Linked DNA regions of Homo sapiens: region 2 is linked to region 1. The links are contacts of gene promoters, found by promoter capture Hi-C in blood cells and fetal thymus (Javierre and others, 2016). All regions are on one chromosome and are shown on one strand. The core of a region is centred on a gene start or on the middle of the fragment in contact, and the rest is flanking DNA. Distances in the headings are between cores, read along the strand shown. Region 1 holds the start of TIAL1 (TIA1 cytotoxic granule associated RNA binding protein like 1). Region 2 overlaps LINC03036 (long intergenic non-protein coding RNA 3036).

Region 1 (4,384 bases), core at 1,317-3,816:
ATCAATAGCTCTTTTTAAAAAAATCACTGAACAATATTTCTTTGCATGGATGTACCACCTTGTACGACAGTTTATCCATTCACTTATATCAAGGACATCTTAGTTGCTTCCAATTTGGGATGATTATGAACAAAGCTGCTGTAAACATTTGTGTGCAGGTTTTTATGTAAACATGTTTTCAGCTCATTTGGGTAAGTACCTAGGCATTATGTTTAGTTTTGTAAGGAACTGACAAGCTGTCCTCCAAAGGGGCTATAACATTTTGCAGTCCTACCAGCAAAGAATGATAGTTCCTGTTGCTTTTCATACTCACCAGCACTTGGTGGTGTTAGTGTTTTGGATTTTAACCTTAATAATTTCACTGCCAGTAAACATGCCCATTTTAACCATTCTAGTTTGTAGTGGGCATATTCTTTTTACTAAGTTAAAAAAAAACTCAAATATACATGTATATACATATGATTTTTAGGACTATGTACATGTGGAATAAAACCTTGTAGAAGGAAAGCAATAAATAGTAAAGACAGGATTCAGAAAGATGGTTACCCCAAGCGAAGGCAGGGGTGTGTGTTATTGTGTGTAGGAGGTATAGCATAGATACAGATATAAACTCGTGTCATTATAACTTTTTAGTGTGGTGGGTTTGTGGCTATAATCAAAACTAAAGTAATAAAGGTGGGTGCGGTAAACTGAATAATGGTCCACCAAAGATTTCTATGTCCTAATTCCCAGAATTTGGGAATGTTATGCTAAAAGGGACTTTGCAGATGTGATTAAGAATCTTGAGATAATCTTCGCCCAAAGTAATCACAAAAGGTTCTCGTAAATGAAAAGGGGTGGCAGGAGAATCACGATGTACGTACAGAGGCAGAGAAGAAAGAAGATACTATGCTTCTTTTCTTGAAGATGGAGGATGGGGCCAAGAGCCAAGGAATGCAGGCAGCCTCTAGAAGCTGGAAAAGGCAAGGAACCAGCCCTGCCGACACCTTGATTTTAGCCCAGTGTAACTGATTTTGGACTTCTGACTTCCAGAATTGTAAGAAAATAAATTCGTGTTGTTTTAAGTATCTAAATTTGCAGTAATTTGTTACAGCATCAACAGGAAACTATCACAGCGGGCCAGGCATGGGTTAATGAATTGGATTATAATTAAATCCAGTTCTACACCTAGGTCCAATTAAAAACATAGACAAAACCTTTGAGTGGCTCCTCACTGCCTGGAAGAGAAAGCTCAAATTCCTCAGCATGAAATAGATTCTTGACAACACGGTTCTACAAGGTCCTCTCTAGCTTTAGTTCCCTTCCCCCCGCTCCCGCCCGCATCCCCAGCCCATACATTTTAGCCATGGGTCCTGGCGTCTGAGCCTTTTGTTGTTCCTACGGACTCTTATGGGGCTCAACTCCTTTGCCGTGTCTCTATGAAGTCTTTCAGGTTGAAATTTCCTCCCCTGAAAATGGACAACATAAGGGCTTGCTGCATGGTTGATTCTGCTTTCAAGATTAATGTTCAGTGGCACGCATACGCACCGCCACTTGCAGAGGTCGACATGCACTTAGTACATGTCGGCAGAAGCAACTCTTAAGCCATTACTAACCGGGGCAGTTAAGTTCTGGCAATGGGCTGAAAGATCTTTCTTCATCGCCACTCTTCACTAAGCTACAAGACCAAGTACTTTCTCCTGAAGGTACTTAGAGGAGGAAAAAAGCACACCAGGAACTGTTGTGGGGGGTGAGAAGACAAATTCTACAGGGATGCAGAGCTAGTATGAACATGGCTTCCCCTATCTTCATGCAAAACTGCGTTTCTAGCCCACATGACTGATGTCTGTAAACGCAACTTTATGTTTGTGCACGTCTCTGCCCAAGGATTTTTTTTTCTTTTAACTCCAAGAATACGGGGGGAGTTGGGCAAGTCATTATAATAGGGCTCCTCTTCTTACCCCACTATCCGATGAGACATTTGATAGGGAAACCTCTGAAACTTGTAAAGCAATTTACAAGCAGGCCACCTACTTGTATTTAACAAATAGGCTAGAAATACCTATTTGTGGGAAATCGAGTCCCCAAAACACCCCAACCCCTCCGGGTCCCCGCCAGCACAGCCTCTCTTCTGACTGTCGCGCGAAGCGGCGGTTGACTAACGCGAGCCAGCCGTTCTGATGAACACAGGAGGGCCGGACGGCCCTGCTGGCTCGGACACCACGCGGAGGGAGAGTGCTGCCTGAGCCACAGTTGAAGAAACCGCTCTCGGGCTGGACGAAGGCGGAGCAGCAGCTCAGACTGGGCCAACAGAAGAGCCTTACAATGCCTGGAGCAGTCCGAGGACAGCCCCCGGCGCGAGGAACTCTGGGACTTGTAGTTCGCTTTCCCAGACAGCGCTTTTCCCCACTTGGTCTCCCCGCCTTTCAATGTCGCTTTTATTCTTCCCTTTACCTCCCAGCCCGCCGACTTCCTGGTCGTCGCACGTCCTCACGTATGACTACACTACCCAGAAGTCTCCTCTTCACGTCCCAGCGCGGGTGGGCGCCGGCGGCTCCTCTTAACCACAGGTTCCAGAAGTCCTCTGCAGAAGTGCTTCCCTCTCTCATTTCCAGGACCACAATTCCCAGAGACTTCGGCTTCACGACGTTTCTCTTTTTGCCCGATCTCTCCCGGAGCTGGCTGGGCTTCGGCCGGCCAGAGGCCCACAGCGACGACGTGATCCGTCGTGAGCGGGTCCCAGGGTTTCCTCGGCGGCCCTTTTTTCTCTCCCCTCGGTCGTCCCCCTTGCAGGCTGTCGCGGCTGGCCTGAGCGGTGACCTGGCGGGTCGCGCCTGCGCTCTGCCCTGTTTCCTGCCTGGCTGGTGGCGGCGGCCATTTTGTTCATCCTCCTCCTCCTCCTGCTCCTCCTGGTTGGAGCGCAGTGTCCGGAGCGGGCTGGGGGGAGAGAGCCCGAGAGCAGGGTTCGGTGCCTTTTCCTCTGTCCCCAGCCGGTGCCCAGAGCCCCCCTCCCCTTCCTCCCCACCCCCTCCCCTCCCCAACCCTGCCCTCCCCCTTGTCCCGGGATCGCTCCGTCGCACCCACCATGATGGAAGACGACGGGCAGCCCCGGACTCTGTGAGTACCCGAGACGAGGGGTGCCAGGCGCCAAGAGGCCCGGGCACCGCGGGACGCTAAGGGAGGGAGCAGGAGAGACTGGGCCGAAGCCGGGACTCTAGGCGGCTCCCTGACCAGGGCGGCGTGGACGCGAAGTGCATTCCTCATCTGTCCCCTTTTCCTTGGGAAGGAAATCCTCCCTTCCCCCAAACAGTCACTTCCTGGGGTCTGGGGCTTGTCTCGACCTTTTTCTCTGGCGTCCTTCTTTGCATGCCCTCCCTAGGCCGGGTTTCTGCACGGCTGAGGCTGTCAGGCCCAGGAGAACTCCTGCACCCCCTCCGCGTTGGACGCCCTGGGCTGGGCCTGGAGCTGCCGGCGCCCACGGGGGAAGGGCCTGGCGGGGGTAGGATTGGGGGTGGGCCCGGGGGTGGGCCCCGCGGGCCCTGAGGAATTAGCACTCACCCCTTCCACGTCCTCAGCTCGAGTCGCTCCCAGCTCTTCTCCCCAGCTAAGCTCTCGGAGGAAGCAGGACACTCTTTCACCACTCAAGCCCCTTCTCTCTTTATGCCCCACGTGCCCCCGCCCACGCTGTCAGAAACACCCGCCTAGCGCCCGCTACTTTTGAAGTACATAAGGGATACCTTTTGCTGCCCGAGCATCTTTCCCTTCTTGGATAAAGAAGTTTACTTTGAGCGCTCCCTACGCTAAACTGACAACCAGTTGTTAAACTCCTTTTGCTCTCTAGGTGTTGCCTCTTCCTAATCTGTTTGTGCGTCGAAAGCTTCAGAGTTGGCTAAAATTATGTCTTCATCCGCTATTTGATGTGTGTCTTCTGAACGCTTTTTCTCCTGTCTTGCTGTTGCTTTTTACCTGAAGCTCAATCTAATGAATGAATTCCATCTTCCAACCACTTAATTCTGGTTTCCTTCCTTTCCAATGAAGAGTGATGACTCAGCATTTGCATTCCTTTCTGAATAGTGTGGCACTCCTTTTCTCTGCATCTTTTTTTTTTTTTTTAAGTCTGAATACTTTTTAATTAAATGTTTAAATTGGGCACCCTAATTTCCCGGCCTCTCCAGGTCTAGCACTCCTACCTTGAGTACCAAGGAGTCAGATCGCTGCTTTGTTTCTCTTGCCTCTCCTGGTATTGATAGGATCATAGTCCACTTGGCTCTGCTCTCTGATGGGGAAATTGCTTTTTAGGGAATAGATGAAGGTGGAGGGGCACTCGAGAAGTTTGACTAGCTTCACATCTCTTCACTCCTACCAAAGAAAGGATGCTCAGTAAAGAAGATAGATGTTCAGTATT
Region 2 (4,384 bases), core at 1,361-3,860, 570 kb after region 1:
TCTCAGTGACCATAGAAAGGCCAGTGTGGGCACCTGGCCCAGCTCTGGGTTAAATAAACAGTGACTTTTGTCACCCAGCAACAGGCCTCAGCCTGGCTGTGAGCTCTCTAGCTCTTTGAGGTGTTGGCACGATTTCAGAGATGTTCTTAGCACCTCTGATGAAGTCTCACTGCCTTTTGCTCACTTTCCAGGAGTCTGGAATGAAACAGATGGAAACAGCCAGTCTGTGAACGTTTCTTCAGGTATCCGGCAGAGGTGAGAAGACAGGTGGGCATGGGCTACACCTCAGAAGTTAGAGGGTGCTGCTTGGTTTCTTCTGGAGTGGGGCAGTGGGGCCTGCCTGGCACAGGCTGAGGGCTCTGGCAGGGCAGGGGTGGGTGGTGGGGAGGGTGCCTGGGTTCTGTGCTCCCACCTCTCCACATGGCCCCCAGCCCGGGCCATTTCCTTTGCTGGCAGCAGAACTGAACCCTGTGAGGCAGCTCACAGACCTCAGGCTCCTGAGGCTCTTCAGAAACATGAGGTCAGCCCTGGGGAATGAGGCAGCTTGGCCGGGGTCCAGGCGGCTATAGCGATGCTGTTTGTCAGGTTCTGGGTTCCCGCTGACCCCCTGCCAGGACTTTGCCAGGGACAGGAGGTGCTTTGGCTCCGTCAGCCATGGGCCTGGAGGTGGGTGAGGTGCATTTGGGCACGAGGAGCCCTCTCCTGGCTGACTTTGTCCACATCATGGCTCTGTCAAGCTCAGAGAGTCCTGGGATGGGGCTCCTGCCCTTTGGGGGGCTTGGGCTTAGGGTCTGCTGTTGTGGAGAAGCCATATGGTGAAGTGGGGAGAGCTTACTGGGCCTCGGGACAGGGTTTGCACCCTGGCGCTGGTGCAAAGTCACGTGTAGTGGACAAGGGGCTTAACCTCTCTGGGCCCCAGATGCTGCTTTTGGTCAGTGAAGGGCTCTTGTCGAGTAAAATGGCAGCCACTCCCCCTCCTTGCAGACTTAACTTTGTTCTGATTCCTTCCCTCAGCCTCGGGGCATAACTGTGACAGGTTTAAGCAGAAACATCCCATTTCCCCTAGTCACCACTGGGTAAGGGGAGGGCTGGTGACCCATTCTCACCCTGGAGATCTCAGCGGACATCTGCTGTCTGCTGGGAGGATACTGGGAAGGGGTTTGCTTCCTTATATAAAAAGGGGGAAGAAATAAAGAACCAGGGCCCTCACCTTCTTCAGCTCAGGCTATAGAGCTGAGGTGATAAGGCTTAAGGACACAAAGCTGGCGCAAGGTGATGGCTTACCAGAAAAGTTAAAACAAAAAACAAACCTTAGTGATATTTTTGTTGATGACTTGGTGACTTGTTACACGAGATAATTATAACATCTCTATTATTTCAGCCACTTCAAGTCAGGTATCCTTTTATTTATTTATTTATTTGAAACAGTGTCTCACTCTGTCACCCAGGCTGGAGTGCAGTGGCATGATCTCGGCTCACTGCAACCTCCACCTCCCAGGTTCAAGCGATTCTGGTGCCCCAGCCTCCCGAGTGGCTGGGATTACAGGCATGCACCACGATGCCCAGCTAATTTTTGTATTTTTAGTAGAGACAGGGTTTCACCATGTTAGCCAGGCTGGTCTTGAACTCCTGACCTCAGGTGATCCACCTGCCTTGGCCTCCCAAAGTGCTGGGATTACAGACGTGAGCCACCACACCACGTCCAGGTATCCTTTTATACGTGCAGTTGACTTCATTCTTAATCAAGCTTGTCCAACCTGTGGCCAGGTGGCCTCATGTGGCCCAGGACAGCTTTGAATGCGGCCCAATACAAATTTGTAAACTTTCTTAAAACATTATGAGATTATGCACAGACCTTTTTTAATTAAGCCCTTCAGCTGTCATTAGTGTGTTTTATGTGTGGTCCAAGACAGTTCTTCCATTGCGGTCCAGGGAAGCCAAAACATTGGACACCCTTGTTCTAAATGAAACATGTAATACTGTGAAAAAAAATACATTTGGTTATTCTGTCGAAAAGGTAGGCTACCATATTCTGGCCAGGTGGAGGTGACGACCATGTCAGAATTCTCTGTGTGTGGACAAGGCTGGAAGGGGATGCGGAGAATGGGAAACGGGTGCCGTGGTGTCATCTCACACCCCCTGCCTTGGGCTAAAGTCTCCCAGCTGGTAATAATACCACCACCATCAGCACCAGGTGCTTGACATGCACTATTCCATGTGCCCCCCACCCCCAACCCTGCCCCGCAAGGCAGGTGCGCTGGTGACCTGTTGGAGACGGGGGCAAAGCTCAGCATGGAGCCCAAGGCTGAGAAGCTCAGGAGCAGCAGGACTGAGATTTGCACCCATTTTTCTCTCACTCCCCGAACCTGGGTTTGTGCCTCCTTGGATGCACCCGGTCATTCTTGGGACTTCTGGGGTCCAGATGTGCGGGAGACTGGCCAGCAACACACAGCGGCAGGGGCAGGAGAGGACACATTCCAGTCCGTGTCAGCAATGTCCCCTGAACAAAACCAACCCCATTTAAAAGCAGTCTGGGTGTTTCTGTTTATCCAGTAGTGGGTACTTTGGTAAAGTGAGTAATCCTTTCTCCCTCCAGCACTTGCCCTCCTCCCTGCCATGTGGTTTTCTTTTAGAAATCTGGAGTGTCCCAATTTTGTTTAAAGCAGGAGCTGCCTGGAGGCTGACAGGCGGAAGGGCAGATGTCCCTGGGCTGATGATGCTGATAATAGCAATAACAGTAGCTCACAGGTGCTGAGCCCTTACCGTGCACTAAGCATTCACTCATATCATTTCTGAAATCCTCCCAGCAGGCCTACAATGATAAGCATTTCACAAAAGGGAAAATGAGGTTTTGGGAGGCTAAAAGCATGCCCAGCAGCTCACAGCTAGCTGGTAGGTGGCATTTCTTCAAGGCCCGCACTGTTAACCCTCACACCTCCTTGATCATCCCCTGGCCCGTGGATACTCATTCATTTGGAATTCACTACATCCGGCCTCCCCACCTCCTCCTGTGCTTCCCTAAATGGGGCCATCAGCCTTCTCTCACCCGTCGTCAATCCCTGCTGTCTGCAGGGGGAGGGAAGTAAAAAGCTGACAGGAAGGAGTTACATGTAAAATGGTAACCTGTAGATTGAGACTGTTCTCCAACAGGTCTGAGGGCTCTAGGCAGAGGGAGGGGAAGCGGGGATATGAGGGCTGTGGAAAGGATGGGACCAGACTGCCAAGCAAAGAATGCTATGTGTGGTTCTGCAGGTTGTGTACAGTTCTGCAGGTTGTGTACTGCACAACCGCTTCCCATCTAAGGGGGCACCTTTACTTCATAGACATAGTAACTCTGTGATCATTTTCTGGCCGACCTTGAGTAAAGTATCTTCTAACGAAATCAGTATATTATGACACTTCACTGACAGATGGAAAAAGATACCTTGTGGAAGAAGTGTCTTTTCCTAATTTGCTCAAAGCCCAAAGCTTTGGCTCTGGCCGAGGTGTGAAATGCTGAGCTTCTTGAAGGCGGGCCTCAAGTTTGACATTAGTACCCCTTTTCTTGTTTCCCCATTCTGAAGCTTCAGGTGGAGAGTCTCCTGAATTCAGCTGATCAGGTGCTGGGCACAGTTCTGCCCTGGTTGTTACTGGTGGATCAGCTGCCCCTTGGGACTAACATTTAACTTTATTTTTGAGACAGTCTTGCTCTGTCGCCCAGGCTGGAATGCAGTGGCACGAGCTTGGCTCACTGCAACCTCTGCCTCCTGGGTTCAAGCGATTCTTCTGTCTCAGCCTCCTGAGTAGCTGGGACTACAGGCATGCACCACCACGCCTGGCTAATTTTCATATTTTTAGTAGAGATGGGGTTTTGCCATGTTGCTCAGGTTGGTCTAGAACTCCTGGGCTCAAGCAGTCCGCCCGCCTCACCCTCCCAAAGTGCTGGGATTACAGGCGTGAGCCACCTCGCTGGGCCGGGACTAACATTTTAAAGATTGCTCAAGTCATTTTAGCCATCTTCTTCTGGTCTTATCTGATTTGCACTGATCCTCTCCCAGCCGTCCTGAGTTCTCCAGGGATTTTGTGTGCTCGGAGCTGCCTCTCCACAGTTGTGTCTGTCTTCAGGCTTCTACGGCTTAGTGACCAGAAGGCAGGTGGGCCCCAGGGAGCGGATGGAGGATCCAAGCTCTGTATAAATTGAGTAGCCTCGAGCAAAATCAGTTCCTGTCTCTGGATCTTAGTTTTAAATTTCAGTTTAAAATAATTGGGCTGGCCTAAGTGATTTCTTGGCCCTTTCCATCTCTAAAATTCATTTATTTACCATCAAGGTCTGGGGATAAGTGGCAAATAAGACTGACGTACTTCTGACCTCATGGAGCTTACACTCGAATTGGGCAGACAGACA

The links. Contacts are between HindIII fragments. The CHiCAGO score rates a contact against its expected background, and 5 or more counts as called.
Region 2: a fragment that was not itself captured here is called in contact with the fragment with the promoter of TIAL1 in region 1 in 1 of 17 cell types (fetal thymus); the score reaches 5.3 in fetal thymus.

Annotation. Positions count from the first base shown.
Region 1 is chr10:119,595,146-119,599,529 of GRCh38, reverse strand. TIAL1 (TIA1 cytotoxic granule associated RNA binding protein like 1) reads left to right here and starts at 2,566. Exons shown (of 12, transcript NM_003252.4): 1 at 2,566-3,096. The coding sequence starts at 3,065. It overlaps LOC105378512 (a long non-coding RNA gene), which reads right to left and starts at 3,966. Exons shown (of 2, transcript XR_946358.3): 1 at 3,538-3,966; 2 at 1-2,916. RefSeq lists enhancers at 1,354-1,443, 1,339-2,336, 2,334-2,923, 2,337-3,335 and silencers at 2,934-3,043, 3,454-3,553. The HindIII fragment of the contact is 6,118 bases long and covers 1-3,858 here.
Region 2 is chr10:119,021,668-119,026,051 of GRCh38, reverse strand. It overlaps LINC03036 (long intergenic non-protein coding RNA 3036), which reads left to right. Exons shown (of 4, transcript NR_186540.1): 2 at 192-255. Among named protein-coding and RNA genes, the nearest start is that of LINC03036, 5.7 kb to the left of the region's middle. RefSeq lists enhancers at 701-1,274, 2,460-3,102, 3,103-3,745. The HindIII fragment of the contact is 1,721 bases long and covers 1,750-3,470 here.